Linked DNA regions of Homo sapiens: region 1 is linked to region 2. Evidence: promoter capture Hi-C in 16 types of primary human blood cells and fetal thymus (Javierre and others, 2016). All regions are on one chromosome and are shown on one strand. Each heading gives the region's core, a stretch centred on a gene start or on the middle of the fragment in contact. The rest is flanking DNA. Distances are from core to core; before and after follow the strand shown. Region 1 has its middle 14 kb from the start of CREG1. Region 2 holds the start of GPA33-AS1 (GPA33 antisense RNA 1).

The links. The method cuts DNA at HindIII sites, captures the fragments that hold promoters and counts their contacts. A CHiCAGO score of 5 or more calls a contact.
Region 1: a contact is called between a fragment that was not itself captured here and the fragment with the promoter of GPA33-AS1 in region 2, in 3 of 17 cell types (fetal thymus, total CD8 T cells and naive CD4 T cells). The highest score is 8.4, in fetal thymus.

The regions. Positions count from the first base shown.
Region 1 is chr1:167,565,912-167,570,456 of GRCh38, forward strand. No RefSeq gene overlaps it. Among named protein-coding and RNA genes, the nearest start is that of CREG1, 14 kb to the left of the region's middle. The HindIII fragment of the contact is 583 bases long and covers 1,806-2,388 here.
Region 2 is chr1:167,050,407-167,054,817 of GRCh38, forward strand. It overlaps GPA33-AS1 (GPA33 antisense RNA 1), which reads left to right and starts at 2,279. Exons shown (of 6, transcript XR_922249.3): 1 at 2,279-2,360. GPA33 (glycoprotein A33) reads right to left here. Exons shown (of 7, transcript NM_005814.3): 7 at 2,430-4,060. The coding sequence ends at 3,928. The HindIII fragment of the contact is 1,060 bases long and covers 1,328-2,387 here.

The DNA.
Region 1 (4,545 bases), core at 847-3,346, 520 kb after region 2:
GGATGAGAGGATACCCTCTCCCATGGTGTTGTCCTAAGCTGTGGTCCCTCTGTGCACCTGTGAGTCTGAACCCCAATGTGACAGCTCCTTGGTTACATAAAACTCTCAGCATAATCACCATGGCAAATATTTATCAAGCTCTGTGTGCCCAGTACTATTCCAAATACTTTCATGTACTATCTCACTTCATTTTCACATCAACTCTACGACATAATACCACAGGTCCTCAATTTCACATCCTCATTTCCAAAATTCAAAAAGCTCTGAAAACAGTCATTTGCCAGCACACCTTCCCTCGGTGAGACTCTTCATGTTTTTTATCCATCCTGTGCTCCGCAGGTGTTCCTATGTTTCACTGCAGAACTATGAATGTTGTGGAGGAAAAGCAACCGGAACACCATGACCGTAGACTTTAATCCAGACTGCCAGGCAGAAGCAGTCCCTGAAAGGAGTGTTCTCAAATACCTTGGGGGAGGAGGGAGGGTTTTTGGGTTTGTTGTTTGTTGTTGTTGTTTTTATTGCTGTTATAGGGCCTTAGCAGGGGGGTCAGCCTTAATTCAGGAAGTTCAGGAATAGTAGGTGAGGGATGGATTTTAGAAGAGAGAGGAATTCTTGCACATCAGCCACCATTGTTCAGGCAATTTGGATTTCATTAAGAGGGATGAGGAGGAGCAGTTAGGGGCTAAGGTCACGTGTTAGAGTGGGTGGAAGAACAGCTGTGGAGGACGAGGACATGCCACAGCCTCAGTGGAAACTTCTTGGTCCTTCGGTGTCTCTCAGTGTATTCGATTGCAGGTACTGCTCCAGACACCACTTTCTCTATTCTAGGAAGTTTCCCAGGCTGCCTCAAGAAATGTGAAATTCTTTTCTTTTCTGTGTAGTACATAAAATAGATACTTCTGGGCAGCTTCTTACCTTTCTCAGATCTGAAAATCCTGAATTCTGAGACACGTTTGGCCCAAGGGTCTTGGGTAAGGGATTACGAGCTCTTTTTCTCAGCCCCATCTTACAGCTGAGGAAACTGAAGCCCCTGGGGGTTACAGACCTTGCTCAAGATCTAGCATTTAGTGAGTAGACTAACAGACATCCTGTTTTCCACAAGTCACTCCCAGGTGCCAGAGAGGCTGGGTCAGAAGGAATGCATAGCCCCAGGTAGGTGCTGTGCCCAGAGGTGCCCTCCTCACGACCACAGCATCCTGTCCTGGGTGGGAGGTAGAGTCACTGCCCCTCTCCAGACAGAGGTCAAGGATGAGTAAAAATTCGCCCTGATGTTGCCATGTTTCCTGCTTCTCCAAGAGTTGGTGAAAGAGCCTGTGGTTGTTTTTCTCTCCACTTTATTTCCTTCCTGATAGACTTTCTTGGCCATTCACAATAATTTGTTTTTATTTTTTCCTTAAGGATGACATAGAATGTTTTTAAAAGCCTGACCCCTTATTGAAAGTAAAAAGAAAAATGCCTAAAGAGGGTAACATGCTCTGGCCAGGCCTTCAAGATCTGACAGGAAGACAAGGGCAGCCCCTTCCCACTGCAGGGCTTCTCTGGCCATGCAGCCATGAGGTCAACTCCCACTAATAAGCACTTTAACCCTCAATAAGCGCTCTCAATACTTCATGGGTAAAGATGGGCAAATGTTTTTAAAAGCAGACATGTTACAGAAATTTTTAGTAGGCCCCACCTCCAAAAAGCAAACAAAAAAAAAAACACTGCAGGAAGGGCTCCATAAAATGTTTATTTCACTGCAACCTCTTCGCAGAGCCTAGTTTTGTTCTACAAACAACGCAAACCACCTACATTCTTCACACATAAGCTTATTATGACCCTAAGTTTCATGTGGATTTCAAAAATGTGATTTTCTCTTTGGGAGGAGGCAGGTAGAGGTAAATTAACCTCCTTTCTTATTGCTGGCTTAGCTGCCCTGGAGGGCTGTGGGTTACGGAGTGACTTCATCAGGAGAACAGAGGGATGCTCGGGAAGAAAGGCTGGAGCAGCTCCTGTCTCAGCCGCACAGGGAAATGGATGCCTGACTTGCTGTATTATAATAGCAACGTCTCTGCAGGGAACTCATTTCAATACTTTATATACTGAACTTGCTTAATAAGAGGCTAGCATTTCTCAAAGAAATCAGTTTCAACTATGATTTTTTAAATGCTAACCAACTACAAAGTAACCCACAAATATCGGAGGGCTATACTAGTTATTTAAAACTTAGCAGCCTAGAGAGCCCCGTTTCCTTTAGTTTAGTTGTGTCACTTTTTCCTTTAACATTTAAATGGAAATATTTCATATGCTGGGCTTGGAAACTCAGCATTTCCCCACAGAATAACTGAGGATTCCCAGGGGTATATGCTGTTCACAATAGTTTTCTGCAAGATTTTTTATCTTGCTGGAAGCTTTCTCTGCTTCTTGTCCTGAATTAACCCAACAAACACTACTTTGCCTTAATTTCCCTGCAACAAACACTGCTCACCCAAAGCATAGCAGGTTTTTGTTGAAGATTTAGGGGAGGCGTTACATTGCCATGTACCACGGCAGATTATTTAAAATTGAATGTTTCAGTCTCTATTCTAGAAAGCTTCCCAGGCTGCCTTAAGAAACTTGAAATTCTTTTCCCTTTAATATGTACAATAATTTTGCTCAATGTCTTCTCTTAGCACAGCCAACGAGGCATGGCAGTATTTTTCCACAATAAAATGGCTTTCTGAGCATTTTGTTAAATGAAATATATTTCTTCTTTTAAATAAATTCTAGGGCCCATTTTAAAACTCCCTCTTTCACATTTACAAAATTTCAAAGGGAAACTTTAAGTAGTTACTCAGTATATGCTGATCAAATAAATTTCAAGCATACTGCTTAAATTCATCTTATTCCTCCATAGAAAGGGAGGAAAGCCTGGGGACAGTGGCTCACGCCTGTAATCCCAGCACTTTGGGAGGCCAAGGTAGGTGGGTCACTTGAGCCCGGGAGTTTGAGACCAGCCTGGGCAACAAGGAGAAACCCCATCTCTACAACAAATACAAAAAAAAAAAAAATTAGCTGGACATGGTGGCACACACCTGTAGTCCCAGTTACTAGGGAGACTGAGGTGGGAGGATCACTTGAGCCCAGAAGATCAAGGCTGCAGGGAGCTGTGAGCATGCCACTGCTCTCCAGCCTGGGTGACAGTATGAGACTGTTTCAAAAAAAAAAAAAAAAGGGTGTGTGTGTGTGTGTGTGTGTGTGTGTGTGTGTGTGTATAACATTTGTGTTTGTGTGTGTGGGAGGAACATCTGAGTGGGCATTTTGTGCCAAAGGTAATCATGTGTGCTATCTGTGGTAGGCATTATACTGTCCACCCAATATTTCTGGCTCTCTGCCTTCTGGGCACAAGGGGGGCCAACTTAGGGTTAGTGGGGCCATATGACTAGTTCTGGCCACTGAGATCTAAATGGAAATGACATGTATCACTTCCATTCAGACCCTCCAGAAGGCTCTTTCCCTTACCCTAGGTTGCTGTGTTCCAGATTGTGGGTGCTCTGTCCACTTGTATCTTGGATCAGTGTAGAGTAGATCCCTCTCCCACCAAAGCTGGTCTGCAGGGACCACAGTAAACACGTATTATGAGTGGGAAATAAACAATAAACCTGTTATTTGAAGTCACTGAGATTTAAGGACTATTCGTTACCATAGTATAGCCTAGCCTACTTTGATATACTATCTAATTGTAATTCTTGCAATCACCCTCTGAAACAGGTATTATTATCTCCATGTTATTGATGTGATTTTCTCAGGCCACAGAGCAAATACATGGTGGAGACTATTTTCAAATCCACCTCCATCTGACCCAGTGCCTGTGCTCACTACGCTGAATTTATACTTACATTTATGAACTTTACTTTTTGATGAATATTCTTACAAACAGGTTCATAGCTTTTTTGAATTTCCAATTTTGCTGAATTGGAACTTCCAGTTTTGAAATTCCAATCCAATTCCAGTGATCCCAATAAAACAGCACCATAGAATTTTTACTCAGTGTAATTTCATGTGATCCCCACAACACTCCTGTTATGTCAGGCACATTCTTTTTTATTTGTTTGTTTTGGTTTTAATTGTTTATTTTACTTTAAGTTCCAGGATACATGTACAAAACATGCAGGTTTGTTACATAGGTATACATGTGCCATGATGGTTTGCTGCACCCATCAACCCGTTATCTAGGTTTTAAGCCCTGCGTGCATTATGTATTCGTCCTAATGCCCTCCCTCACCTTGCCCCCCATCCCCCCACAGGACCCAGTGTGTGATGTTCCCCTCTCTATGTCCATATGTTCTCACTGTTCAACTCCCACTTTGAGTGATAACATGCGGTGTTTGGTTTTCTGTTCCTGTGTTAGTTTGCTGAGAATGATGGCTTCATCTATGTCCCTGCAAAGGACATGATCTCATTCTTTTTTATAGCTGCATAGTATTCCATGATGTATATGTGCCACATTTTCTTTATTGAGTCCCTCATTGATGGGCATTTGGCTTGGTTCCAAGTCTTTGCTGTTGTAAAAAGTGCTGCAATAAA
Region 2 (4,411 bases), core at 1,029-3,528:
GGAGAGGCAGTCTCGGTGAGCAAACTCAATAGCCAAGCGTCCCCAAAGAGGCCCTCCCCATCGGACCAGACTTAACAATAGGATCACTTCTGCAGATGCCCCGGGCCCCAAGCCAGAATATCCAGGGATGGAGCCAAGACCAGAGAATCTTCCAGAATTTCCACAGGGGATATGACACCTACTGATACAGACTGCCATCAAAGATGAGAGCTCCTTGATAGTAGCCGACTTCTCTTATTCTGATTCCATGCCCAGTAAGCAACTGAGGGCATAGTGCCCATGGGGTGAGATGGCCTGGGTCAGGTGGACAGAAAGGCTGGTCTACTTGACAGCTATAAATAGCAAATTGACATTCTGTGTTGATCCAAATTGCTTAAATTCACTGTGTCTCAGCTTCCTCATCTGTAAAATGGGAAGAATAATAGCACTTATCTCATAGGGTGAAGATTATGAGATGTTCTATGGAAAAGGCCTAGAACAGTACCTGGCCCAGAGCAAGTGCTGCTGCTATAAGCATTGTACATCAGGCACTGTGAGCTTGGTTAATGTGACTCTGCATTTGAGAGCTGAGGCCCTGTCACTGTGTCACAAAAGCAGCTTAAGAACAAGACTTTTTGGGAGGGAGAGCATTAGGACAAATATGTAATGCATGTGGGGCTTAAAACCTAGATGACGGGTAGATAGGTGCACCATGGCACATGTATACATATGTAACAAACCTGCACGTCCTGCACGTGTATCCCAGAACTTAAAGTAAAATTAAAAATAAATAAATAAATAAATAACAAGATCCTGAAGAGTGGCTAATTTACCAAGCTGTGTATCAGTTCATGGATTCCTCTCTGGGCAGCCAGAGTCCCTCCTTAGGTGATAACATGAACACCTAACATTGGCATATGCCCAAGTATTTGAAACTGCGAGTGGGGATTATATGGAAAACTGTCTGAAGTGCCTAATAAGGGTTTATAGTACACAATCTTCCCTCAATTAATGGGTAGCATTTGTCTCTCTTCTAAAACACCATAAAGTCTTTGAACCAGCAGCTGGAAACCATAATTTGGGAAGGGATGCCTAACATTCTAAGGAGACTGCATTGCTGGGCTAATTTTGATTGTATAAGAACCTACAACAGTCCAATTCCCAGAGTCTGTGGACCGAAATAAATTCAGCAGGAAACTGTAGTCTTACTGAGTGATAATATGATTTGACACCCAAGTAATAGAAACATGCATTGGAGGACAGAAGAAATGTCAGCACCAGCCCTTTTCCACTTGTAAAACTCCTCATTCTTCTTCAAGATGCAGCCCAAATGCAACCTCCTCTCTGAAGCTTTCCTGAACTCCCTTAGGCTGAGTTACTCAGGCCCTCCTGTGTCCTGTAGCCCCTTCTCTTGCTCATGTAATTATGTTTCTATGTCTGTGACCGCCATTAGATTTTAGCTCCTCCTGAATAACAGTTTCTTAGTGACTTTTATATACTCTGCAAACAGCACACTGCTTGGCACGTAGTAGATGCTCACAAAATATTTGTTGTTGAATTAATGCAGTGGGTCTCGATTTCCCTCCTTTTCTTCCCTAAGCCTGGAGCTAAGGCAGGTGAACCTTCAGAGTCCTTTGAGGGGCAGAGAGAAGTCAAGTCAAACCTGGGGGAAGGTGGCCGCCTCTGCTTCCGTGGCTCCCTCAAGAACATGCTTGTGGAACCTTGCACCGTGAGGACTGGAAGGCACCTCAGAGTATCTAGAGAGCTAGGAGATGTCCTTGGGCAAGATACTGTGATACCAAATGTTATTCATTTAACAAACCTTTGTCAAGGGTCAACACATGCCAGGCCATAAAGAAGCTACAGTTCCTATCCTTACAAATCATACAGGGTGAGGCAGAGACAGACCTGTACACAGGTATAATAGGCACACAGTACTGTGTGACAAGTGCTCGGACAGGAGGGAGCACAGGAAAGGACACTGAAGAACAGACCTTGAATATCTCGCAGGAGAGTCCATGTCAAAGCCAAGAGCCCACAGCGGAGCGAAGTTGCCTTGGAGGAGGAAGCGTCACAGTTCTCTGTGACAGAACAAGAGGACTGCCCCGCCCCTTTCTCAGAAGGGGCATCATAGGAAGCAGAACTGGCTAGAGCATCTCCACCATCTTCCTTCAAGCACGTGGACCGACACCCAGGCCTCCTGGTGTCCTGACACTGCAGACTCCTGGAATATACCTCCACCAGCAGGCAGGAATCTGTCCTATTCCCAGCAACCACTAGAGGCACTGCCTGACCCTACTGCGGCCACAAGCAGAGGGACCCCAGGATTCTCAAATCTGTTACCTTGTCTCACCTCCCCTAGGAAGCAGAAGAGTGCTATGGTGAGTAGAGATGATCCATGAGACCCAAGCTTTATCTTACTGCAAACAAAATCCACATTAAAAAAGAAATAAGAATTTCCACCCACAATTTTATTATTACTGAAAGCATTTGGAATGAAGCAAAGGATTTAACAATATATATAAAAATATACATTTTTTAAAAAATCGCAAGTAGACAATAGATTTATGGAATTATTTTTCTGATCATCCAGAAAAGATAGCAATAGTAAACTGCAGTTGGGTGAGACCAGCCACTGGTCCATGAGACCTAAGCAGCCCTAACGCTGCCTGAGCTCTCAAGAGTAGAAGAAATGCTCGACAAACAGAAGGAGGCTGTGGGAGGGCAGCAGGACAGCCCCACCAGAAAACCAGAGCCCAAATGGGCTGGGCAGGGCCAGGGCTGAGGTATCGGGATGCAGGAACAACCAGGAACCCCATGTGGGTTGAGGAGACATGCCAATTATTCTGGCCTGGAGAGGAATTACCAGGACACAAGAACTCAGACCATCTGCAAGCAAGCTCCCTTGTGTGTGTTCACTTTAAATCAATTCGTGTTTAACTCACTGAATGAATACGTGGGTTTGGGTGGGAATCATCCCTGTGTCTACGATCATCTCAAGGAGACCAGAGAAGGGAAGGCACAACCAATCAAAGCAGTTTCCCCAATTAAGCTTAAGTGCCCACTAGGATGGGCGCCAGCTACTAGGGCTTCAGGGAAAGCAAAAGCCATGAGGCCCAGGCCCTGCCCCAAGGAGCTGGCGCTCTAATACAGTGAGAGCACTCGCTCAGAAGACTGTGCCTTGTGGCCCATGATTGGACGTGGGACAGAGTAACAGGATTGTTTCCACGTATGTGGACAATTAGGATAGGGTTAGAGAAATCCTTGTGATTTGAGATGGGCCTGGAGGGACAGGTACGATATTGACAGGCAGAGATGGAAAGTGTGTGGGCAAAAGCTCCCCAGGGCCTGTGCAGCAGGAGTGGGAGGTGGCCTTCCCAGGAGGGTTTGGAACATACTGGCAGCTACGGGAAGTGAGGTTGGAAAGGGAGTGGGAGCTGGAGGCCAGGCCAATGCAGGGCCCAAGCATACTCACTTATTCTTTCATTCATTCAAGAAAGATGTGTGGAGTGCAAACCCTCCACCTGGTGCCCCTCCAGGTGCTGGGCACACAGGTGAGCAGGACAGCCCCCACCCCCCAAGGCTGGCATCGCCTCCCTGGAGAGTTCTGAGTGGGAGCGCCCCATGCTCAGCGCTGTGCTTCCAGGAGCTCCTGCCAACTACGAGGGAAGTGGAGGCTGCAGCCTGGTCTTGAGTGAGGGCCAGGCCCGCACCAGGTGTCACAGCCAGGAGGGGTTACTTCACAGGACAGTGAGGTCAGCAGGATCAGCACAGGGACCCCCTTACCAGGCCAGCCATGTTCCCCACAGCTGACACTGGGGAAGAAATGTCCCCATCAATGTCTGGGATGGAGGGACAGGAGAACAGGGCTTAGAAAGGAGAAGGGAGGCCAGGAAGCGGGAGAATGAACCCCTAACCCTTCCTCCGCCGCCCTCTGCTGCTGGCCTGTCACTGGTCGAGGTGGTCCGGGGATTCACGCCCAGTGCTCCTCTGCTCTTCTTGCCTGTAGTCATCCTCCTCCTCCCTCTCTCTGGAAAGTTCTCTTAGCTGCTCTGGTGGCTCCTCATAGGCTTCCCGGTTCCTGCAGGGCAGCAGGGGACAGAGGGGAAGGATTTGCTCTCAGGTGGACCCTCAAGGGAGCTGGGCCTCATGTGCATTACAGGAAGAGCAGCCTCCAGACCTCCTCCCCACCCACCAGCTGCAGAGGACACTGGGCTGAAAGGCTGGGCTGAGAGTAAAGGTGCCACAGACTTGTTCCACGCATGAGCTGAGGGGGTTACAGGAACAGGCTGGCTTTACCAGCCCAGGAGGAACTGGCCCCGTGACAGGGGCTCCAGGCCACACTTGGCTCTAGTCATGCCACAGGAAGCCCGGCCCTGAGCTCCCAGACTGGAAAACCACAGGACTGGGAGGCAGGTCCTGGGGCTGCAAT